Linked DNA regions of Homo sapiens: all the other regions are linked to region 3. The links are contacts of gene promoters, found by promoter capture Hi-C in blood cells and fetal thymus (Javierre and others, 2016). All regions are on one chromosome and are shown on one strand. Each heading gives the region's core, a stretch centred on a gene start or on the middle of the fragment in contact. The rest is flanking DNA. Distances are from core to core; before and after follow the strand shown. Region 1 holds the start of CASC2 (cancer susceptibility 2). Region 2 overlaps PRKG1 (protein kinase cGMP-dependent 1). Region 3 holds the start of GHITM (growth hormone inducible transmembrane protein).

Evidence for each region. The method cuts DNA at HindIII sites, captures the fragments that hold promoters and counts their contacts. A CHiCAGO score of 5 or more calls a contact.
Region 1: the fragment with the promoter of CASC2 here is called in contact with the fragment with the promoter of GHITM in region 3 in 1 of 17 cell types (non-activated CD4 T cells); the score reaches 7.0 in non-activated CD4 T cells.
Region 2: a fragment that was not itself captured here is called in contact with the fragment with the promoter of GHITM in region 3 in 1 of 17 cell types (activated CD4 T cells); the score reaches 5.0 in activated CD4 T cells.

The regions. Positions count from the first base shown.
Region 1 is chr10:118,044,950-118,048,305 of GRCh38, reverse strand. It overlaps CASC2 (cancer susceptibility 2), which reads right to left and starts at 1,485. Exons shown (of 4, transcript NR_026940.1): 1 at 1,203-1,485. RAB11FIP2 (RAB11 family interacting protein 2) reads left to right here and starts at 1,365. Exons shown (of 5, transcript NM_014904.3): 1 at 1,365-2,495. The coding sequence starts at 2,143. RefSeq lists a silencer at 1,438-1,927. The HindIII fragment of the contact is 9,012 bases long and covers 1-3,356 here.
Region 2 is chr10:51,692,991-51,696,086 of GRCh38, reverse strand. All of the region lies in intron 3 of PRKG1 (protein kinase cGMP-dependent 1), which reads right to left. CSTF2T (cleavage stimulation factor subunit 2 tau variant) reads left to right here. Exons shown (of 1, transcript NM_015235.3): 1 at 1-601. Among named protein-coding and RNA genes, the nearest start is that of CSTF2T, 5.1 kb to the left of the region's middle. The HindIII fragment of the contact is 1,148 bases long and covers 845-1,992 here.
Region 3 is chr10:84,137,954-84,141,118 of GRCh38, reverse strand. It overlaps GHITM (growth hormone inducible transmembrane protein), which reads right to left and starts at 1,610. Exons shown (of 9, transcript NM_014394.3): 1 at 1,526-1,610. RefSeq lists a silencer at 1,330-1,529 and enhancers at 1,103-1,672, 1,673-2,242. The HindIII fragment of the contact is 9,095 bases long and covers 1-3,165 here.

The sequences.
Region 1 (3,356 bases), core at 236-2,735, about 34 Mb before region 3:
TTAATTAAATTTGATTTCATGATGTTTATTTGGTTTTTGTAAGTTTCAGGTGTCAAATTATTTCTCCTTAGAGATCCTGGTGAAATTCCACCATTGACTGTTCCAACGTACTGTTTAAAAATCCCTAAGAATATTTTTCTTTAAAGTTGACAACTGTGCACTCTGGGATCCAGATGCTATATTCGCAGTACGATGATTTTGTTCTGTTTTCCACACATGGCCTTTTCATACACTGTCTCCCAGGGATGAAAAATTCTGCCTTGAATGAGAAGTTTTAAACCTTGCTTGAAAATAATAAACACGATACTTTACATGTTTATGGCCATTTAAGTTAAAAAAACGTGCATTTACATGTATCATATTGTTTTACTCTCAAAATTAGTCTTGTAAAGGGAAAAAAGGCATTAAGTAATTCAGTAAATTGTCTGCTGCATGCTAGCCACTATGAAGGGACTGCATGATAGACAAGGCAGTCCCAAAACTTAGAATTTCCTTGGGAAGGTAAGACACGAACAGAATTAACAGCAATGGGGTGGTACATAAGCGTCTCTTCCAATTGAGAAATAGAGGGGCAAAAGGAGATTTATGTGCCGCATTGTGCTAGGAAAGGCACATGTATTATCCCCTGAAACTCGAAACCCGTGTTTGGGGCATGGTCTCCACATGATTTGCACAGTCCACCACAGTGTGAGTCCCCACGGGGGTCCTTTTGACGTCGAGCCCATAGAGTCGTGATGGAGTCTTAGACATGAGGTAGAACTGGCTTTTTTACTCGTGAAAACACTGAGGCTCATGGAGGTGAAATGACTCGGCCAAGGTCACACACACTGATAGCGGCAGAGGCGCGGCCGGAACCAGGTCTTCTGATGCCAGCCCAGTGCCTCCCTACATCTCTACTCCCTGTGGAAACTATTTGCTTCCCTATCGCCCTTCGTCTGGGTGGGGGATGTCATTTTCAGTCAATTTACGGACTTTTCAAAAAGAGAAGGGTGGATAGGAGATTGGAGAAAAGTTTCCTTTCGGTCAGTGAAGAGGCCTGATTCGTTCCAACACCATTTATGGACCTGCTCCTGCCAGGCACTGGGCATCCAGGACACAGCGAACACAGATCCCCTGCCCTCAAAGACGCCCTAGTTAGGGGCGTCTCCGGGTCTTTGATGACCTCCTCTCACGAGCGGTCCCCAGCCCTCCCCAGGGCTCACCTGCCGGCCTCTGCAGGTACCCACGTCCCTAGGACCCGCCACTGGGCCAGGCCCAAGCAGCATCAAGCCCCGGGTCCCCGCCATTGCGCCCGCGTCGCGCGCCTCCAGTCGCCACGGCAACCAGGGAGGTGCTGACCCCTGACCTCGAGGCCCCGCCCCTTCACGTTCCCGAGACCAACATGGAGAAGGCCAACCCGGAAGTGCCGCCGCAGCCGCCCGCCCGGTGTTAGGAGCCGCCGGCCGGGCCAGGCCGAACCAAGCGCCCGCAGCCCTGCAGCCCGCTGCCCGCCCCACGTCCCGCCGGCGCCGGGGCGGCCGCGTTCCCCGCCCTCCCCCACTCCACCCCTGGCTACCCGCTCCCGCCCGAGAGGAGGAGCTGAGGCGAGGGGGAGGAGGAGGAGGGAGAGGTTTGCGAGAGGGAGCGAGGCCGCGTTAGCCGCCGGCGGTTCGTATTACCGGGGTCGGGAGGAGGAGCCGGGCCGAGCCTGCGGACGAACGCCGGGCGGGCGGGAGGCGCGGAGGCAGCGGAGGCTGCTCGGCCGCAAGGAGGCAGGCGGGAGGCCAGGGGTGCAGAATTGGGGCGGGGGCTCCCTTCACCCCCGCAGCCCTCCGCCCGGGTCCGTGTGGCCAGGCCTCACGTGCCCCGCAGGCCTGGGGAAGGTGGAGACAGGGGCGGGGGTCCGCGCAGAGGCCTGCACGGCGCGGCCAGGTGATGGTGGGCCTCTGTGTTTCTCCAGACGAAAGGGGACCCCCGGAGCGGCCGTGCCCCTGGGCTGCCCCCGCGAGGCGTTTTGACATCAGCCATAGGGAAGTCGGGGAGCCCTGAGCCTGCCTGTTTCCGTTAAGTGTCCTTAGGATGCAGTGATTAAGGAATTAGGCTCTCCCTCCGGGAGGGGCACTGCCTGTGCTAGGGAACTCGGGGGCAGAGAAACAGGACAGGATGATGCTGTCCGAGCAAGCCCAAAAGTGGTTTCCAACCCACGTGCAGGTCACAGTGCTCCAAGCCAAAGATCTGAAGCCAAAAGGCAAAAGTGGTACCAATGACACATACACTATAATTCAGCTGGGCAAGGAAAAGTACTCCACCTCTGTAGCTGAGAAAACCCTTGAGCCAGTTTGGAAGGAGGAGGCCTCTTTCGAGCTACCTGGATTGCTAATTCAGGGAAGTCCAGAGAAATACATTCTTTTCCTTATAGTTATGCACAGGTCCCTGGTGGGTCTGGATAAATTTTTAGGGCAGGTGGCAATCAATCTCAATGACATCTTTGAGGACAAACAAAGAAGGAAAACAGAGTAAGTTATGTAATTTATTTTGAATTTGGGGGAGTTTATATCTTATTTATGGTTTTTCTGTTCTTGGAAATTATCCGTATACTTCGGGCGTTGGTTTTTGGATTGAAATATGATCCAGTTTTAAGCACCATATTTGCATGAATCTGAAGTAAAAGTAGCACTCGTGATGAAATATTTTTTAAATGGAATCATTAATGATCCCTTATTCTTTCTGTTAAACATCTGTCAAATAATTGAATATTTTGTGGTGGATTTTAAGTAAGTTAACATTGTTTCAGTATGAGGACTGGATCACAGTATTGACCAACTAGAACTTCATATAAATTGTTATGGATTTTAAACCTTACAATTATCAATGAAATGGAAGATGAGAAATTAAATCTGGCAATGTAATGTTGATGTGTCGCACTTTGTAGCTGTCAAAAGATAAATCACCAGATTTAGAACTCAGTATTTCGTTTCAGCGTTATAAACACAGCTTTTATTTTAGCTCAGCCATTTTTCAGGGTCAGTGTGCCTTGATGGGAGTCTATACCTGTTAGAAAAAAAAAAAGTTTTAAAAGTATGTACAGACATCCTCAACTTCGAATGCACTTACATTTTCCTTTGAATTTGCAATTACATCAGAGTTATTGTATTCAGAATTGATTTTCCAAAGCTATTGTGTTTAGACCATATTAAATGCTGTAGGATGGAGAGAATGATAAATTTTTGTGATGAAATGATTTGATAACATCTTCAGTGGTCTTTTCAGTATGACTTTTGAGCTTGAGTTAGATACATTTTAATTTAAAAAATCATAATATAAATTAACACTAGGATATTGTGTCTTAAATTGAAAAAAAATATGTTTTTAGAGTT
Region 2 (3,096 bases), core at 169-2,668, about 32 Mb after region 3:
TAATATACATACCAATGAGACAATTAAAAATTGGTTGGAAGATGGAGCTTATCACATTGTGCTACTACGACTTTATTTTTTCTTGAAAATAAAGCCTTGAGGATGTGAACATAAATGTTGGTATCATAAAACAAGTAGTAATAAAAGCATAAATTATCAAATATCAGGTGATCTTACTATGGAGAAGAAAAACCAATATCTAGTTACAGATGAAAAAATGTTTAATACAAAGAGCTGAAAATGTAGAAATTGAGTTATCTTCCCTTTGCAAAATTTTTACACTTTAAATTAGTAATTCTTTGTTTGCAAGGTTTTCATCCCTATGCTGTTGTTTTCTACTACCTGTTTTACTCTTGTTCATACTGCTACTTTCCCATGTTTCCTATATGCCTCCCCTATATTGGAGAGGATAACTCGCGTTTACATATGTGATAGTTATGCTTAATACTAATTCACAGAGTTGGCTCGATCATTTTGAGATTCTAGTTGCTTTATCTCAAAGCTTTCACTGAAGGGCTGTAACTGAAAATTATTAAATGTTAGTCTTTAGTCAAATCTCTGCATTGTTTCATGCAGAAAATAAAGATACAATTAAGGCTGACATTAGTATCTGATATGTTTATTTTTAATGAATACATTATACAAAAGTCTTCCATTCTGGATATACATGGGGCCTGATTACCTTTTGTTTTTAATGAAAAAGGCAGAACTAATGAAATTGCAGGAATGGATGGAACTCACTTAGAGCCATTATCTATATAGTTTGACAGTTGAAATAACTATAAAGATGGGCCATTTTGTGGTTGGTATAAGCAACATCTTGGCGGTAGTCAGATATTAAGCTTATGTTCCCCAGAGAGAATTCCTCTGTATTTCAATAGCACCTCGTAGCTATCTTCATTACTGACAACATTAGTTATATTGCAGTGCACTTTTTACGTCCACTTCCACAAACTGAACACAGGGACAGCCTATCTCATTCCCATATTCACAGATGGGAACAGGACAAAATATTTTATTAGAGTTATTAGGGGGAAAAAATCCCATTAAGAGCACATATGCTGCCTTCATAAGGGTTTAGATGCAACACAGAACAAATGAGCTATAACAACTATTTCCATTTCAAAAAACAATTAGAAACAGGTTATTAAAAACAATCACCTCTACTCTGTGAAAGCTAAGGAAATAGATTCTCCTCACTTCTGAATCATTGAACATTCCAATATTGATGTAGAAAGCATAGAGCCTTATTTCATTTGATAGTAAAGAATAAAGCAAGCAATATTGCCACAATCAGAATCTTTTATGTGTTTTTCTACACAATCATCGTTTATAACCCCTCACATCCTGAATTTTCCCTAGGATGTGTAGACTAAAATAAAATCACCAATTCATTCATCATAATAGTTGAAGATGACAGGGTGAAACAGTGATTTGCTAATGCTTCTTTAAGGCTTATCCTCTTGGGCAGTACATGTTTTTTGGGATTATGAAATGATCAACTTTAATCAGTGCCTGCCCATTAGTCCTTGCCCTAATATTACTGATGATTAATACCAAAAATATGTTTTAATATCTGCTGACTTCCTAGGATTTGGGAGTATTTGATAAGATATAAGCCAATGTGAATCCCAGTCAAAAGTAGGCTTATCTAAGTAAGATTATGTTTGGCTTTTCAACTACACTTTTCAGAATTTTAATGGTAGAAAAACATTTAAGAAAGAAAACCGTTAACGTAATCACGGCTTGCAGAGCTTCTTGTTTTTCCATGCTGTGATGGGACATTAGCTAAGCACACAGAACATAATTTCCTATGGTGTGTCAGGCCTTTCTCTTAGGTCTGATGAGGTCTAAGGATAATTATGTGCAACAACCTACTGTGGCAGAGAAACTGAATTATCAGTTACATCTGAGAGTCTTCTCACAAAAGAATGTCAGTCTCTCACTGCTTTATATTAGCTAATCTCTAGACGGACTTTCCTGGTTGAAGCTTACTTTTTTCATCAGTCTCTTATCAAGAATGCTCTGGTTAAGAACTAATTCATATTACGGACATCATTAATATATTGTAAGTATCCATAAATATAAATTTTAATATTAAATGTTAATAGGGATATTACATGATATTGGCATACTATATAATGTGCTTATATATATTTATTTCAAATGTTAACTGAATCAGATCTTTAAATATTTTCGTTTGTTTTTATGCACCCTGAAACAAAAGTTTACTCCTTTGGTTGAAAATTCACCTTCACAAATATTCATATTACCAATTACCTTTCTCATAAAATATTAACTATCATGTTTGTTCTTGATATTATTCTACAACAATATATAACATGTCATTTGAGGGCATGAATTGTGTCAAAAGTGACACTTGGGAGTCGGGCATGGTGGCTTATACCTGTAATCCCAGCACTTTGGGAGGCTGAGGTGGGCAGATCACTTGAGGTCAGGAGTTTGAGACCAGCCTGGCCAATGTGGTGAAACCCCATCTCTACTAAAAATACAAAAATTAGCCAGGCATGTTGGCAGGCCCCAGTAATCCCAGCTACTTGGGAGTCTGAGGCACGAGAAGCACTTGAACCTGGGAGGTGGAGATTGAAGTGAGTCGAGATTGTGCCACTACACTCCAGCCTGGGCAACAGATGAGACTCTGTCTCAAAATAAAATGAATTTAAAAATAAGTGACACTTGGGGTAACATCATTAAAAATAACAAACCTGGTGCTTATTAAATACTATTAAAAAGCACCCAAATATTTACCAAATAACAGCTTTTTTTTTTTTTTTTTTTGAGGTGGTGTCTCACTTTGCTGCCCAGGCTGGAGTACAGTGGCACAATCTCAGCTCACTGCAACCTCTGCCTCCTGGGTTTAAGTGATTTCCCTGCCTCATCCTCTCAAGTAGCTGTGATTACAGGCGTGTGCTACCATACCTGGCTGATTTTTGTAGTTTTAGTAGAGACGGGGTTTCACCATGTTGGCCAGGCTGGTTTTGAACTCCTGACCTCAAATGATCCACCCGCCTTGGCCCTCCCAAAGTGCTGGGATTAGAGGTGTGAGCCACCACACCTGGCATTTAATAACAACCC
Region 3 (3,165 bases), core at 361-2,860:
TGTAGTTTTGGCTTAAGATTTATACCAGCATCCAGTGGGAAAATTTAAAAGAATCTACATAACTTTTGGGCAAAGGAATAGTGTCATCCAAAGAAGACATGAATAGCTCTTCAAGGTTATACTGCATTACAAAGCTAAAAGGTATTAAAAGAAGCCAACTATATGAATTTCAGCTAATCATACCAAATATTACTTTCCTTCAACATGAGATATAAAAATATTCTAAGTTAACCTATTCTATATGTCCTACTATAATGCGTAAAGGACATTTAGTCTTTCAAAGTAAACAAGTAAACTCAGTTACCAACCAGGTTTCCCTTACATTAGACTCCCTCGATGGTGTCTTCAAAAGAAAAGCATGCTAAAAACTGGATTATCTTAGCTCCAGGGCACATTATACTAGATGGGTGGTCAACCAGAAGTCAGCAGACAGTGTTTCTGTAATGCTAAGGTGAGGTGACTACAATAGGTCAGAATGAAATGACGAGTGTAAACCAACTGGGGCTACCAGCCCATCTCTGCCAATGATTTGTAGTGAATTCTAGGCAAGTGATATACTTCTGGGCCCATTTCCCCATCTGTAACATAAGGATTCCGTGTTCAGACTACAGCGTTGACCCTTAGACTACCTGCTTGAAAGTGCCCCGGATGCATCTTAAAATGTAGGCTCCTGGGTCTTTCTTTGCTCCTAATGATTCTACCCCTAGGAATAAGACCAAGAACGTGTGTTTTAACGAACACTCCAAAAGCTAAGAACTATTGCTTTAAGATACCCGAGCGTCCTCCGAGCTCTGCAACTGAACTATTAAGGGTCTTAAAATTCGGCACCCGGCCTTTGGGAAAACACCCAGCGCTTTTGGAACTTTCGTGCCATTACATCATCTCAACCTATGGCTGTCCTGTATCTTCCTCAGTACTCAGTCCACTGGTTGGGGCCGAAGAGGTCCAGCTCAGAGTGACCTCCATGTGGCGTAACAGCCCAGAGTGGGAATCCCGCTTCTGACAGGTTAGAAGTGACCTTGTGAGGAGTGTGGATCTCTAAGACTCAGATGTCGTTGCTATAAAATGGGGAAAATACTACCGACCCTAATCCAAGGGCTTATGCCTCCGTGAGCATTGATGAGTTTGGGTGCCTGGTCCCCGAGAAAGTTCACCCAGCCCGCTAGATTCAGATGAGAACCCGGCAGCAAACTTCCCTGTCAACCCACAACACCTCTGCCCCTGCCCCAGGTGCCGCTACCAGCGCAGCGGCTGTACGGCCTCGCCGCAAGGATGACTCAGCACCTTGTTGCCCGAGGACAGAAGCACAGCTACACTGAGCCCTTGCCCGCCTGACCAGGGCCTTGTGCCGCCGCCCTCTCCACCAGGTCACCCACAGGACTGCGACCCCAACGCGCAGGCCGGCCCTGACGCAGCCAGCAGCACCGCTGCTTCCAGCCCTTCCCCCCGCACCCAGCGGTCCCGTGAGGGCGGCTGTCAGGACCACCGGGGATCCCGGGCGCCCGCCGGCCAGCCGGAGCAGTACCTCGGTCCCCGGTCACCTTCGCCTCGCAGTTTCCCTTCCGGGCCCCTAGCGTCGGCCTCAAAGAGCACAGTTCCTCCGGCGCACTGCATGACGCAACATCGAAAGGACGTAAATAGTACGAGCAGCCAATCACGGGCAGGCCTCTGTCGGAAAAGCGGCCACACTGGGGGAGGCGGGGTTCCGGGTTGAGGAGGCGGGGTTCCAAATTGGTGGGGCGGGGCCAGTTGAGGATTGTTGCAGGGAACGTCATAGTCAGCGTCCATTTTGCGTGTGGGCATGGGAGTCGTCTCGGCCATCTTTGTTTTGGGCAGTGGAGCTCTGTTTTGCTTTTGTTTTAGTCGTTTCACTCGCCGCAGCTATAAGAATTATGTAAAAATTGAAAGAAAGTAATGTTAGAGTTAAAAATTATTCCGTTTATTCCGTTCCTTTTTGAAGGCCTTTTTGTCCCTTAATTTATCGTGAGATAAATATCTTTTCAAATGTGTCTGCTTCTGAGCCGAGTCATCCGGTTTCTGGGGTCTCATGCCAAATGTTAGATGGTGACATCCAGAAAAGATTTTTTCTAGATGGTTTTTTCATTGCTTTGTGACTTTCCCGCCCACATTTTCAAGTTTCACCCTAAACCTGTGTAATAGGCCTGATAACAGCCGCCTCTGCCTTGCACCCAGGATTGCTCTGAGGACTAAGATGTTTCCATTGCGCGTAATTTGATAGGTGAAGAGCTAGTTGTGGAATACGCGAGAGAGTTACTTTCTTTTTCACTCTCCCTCTATTTCAACAGATATTTACTGAATGCTCAACTTCGTACCAAGCTCTGTTCTAGAAATATATACAAATGAATCAGCCGGGCGTGGTGGCTCAAGCCTGTAATCCCAGTACTTTGGGAGGCCGCGGCGGGTGGATCACTTGAGGTTAGGAGTTCGAGACCAGCCTGGCCAACGTGGGGAAACCCTGTCTCTACTAAAAATACAAAAATTTGCCAGGCGTGATTGGTGCCTGTAATCTAAGCTACTTGGGAAGCTAAGGCAGGAGAATCACTTGAACCCAGGAGGCGGAGGTTCCAGTGAGCCCAGATCCCGCAACTGCACTCCAGCCTGGGCGATAGAGGGAGACTCAGTCTCAAAAAAAAAAGAAACCAAAAAAACAAAAACAAAAAAACAGCAAATGAATTAAACCCGTGTGTGCTACCACTATTTTAACAAAATAAAGTCCTTGCTCTGTGGCTTTACTTTCTGGTAGAGACAGAACATAGAAAAAATATAATGTGATAACTTAATACCATGAAGAAAGAGCAGATTAAAACCCTGAAAGGGTGATAAGGTGATTAACAACATGCAAAATTCATGAACCTTTATCTCCTAAGCAGTAGTTAATTGTGATTTATGATTCCTAATCATGTAAACCTTGACAAATATAAAGACTTGCCTTCTATGTGGATAATAAAAGAGTCTGGCAGCAACACAATTCTTATCTCTTTACGCTGAAAATGGCAGGAAAACACTAGAGAAATCTCACGAAACTGAACAGATCAAGCATGATCAGTTTAATTTTTATTTTGATCTATGCCCAATTTTATTAGCTAGCAAATAGGTTTTCTGTTTGGCTCCTTCAGTGATAGTCTTTTTTTCTAGAGCTTCTGT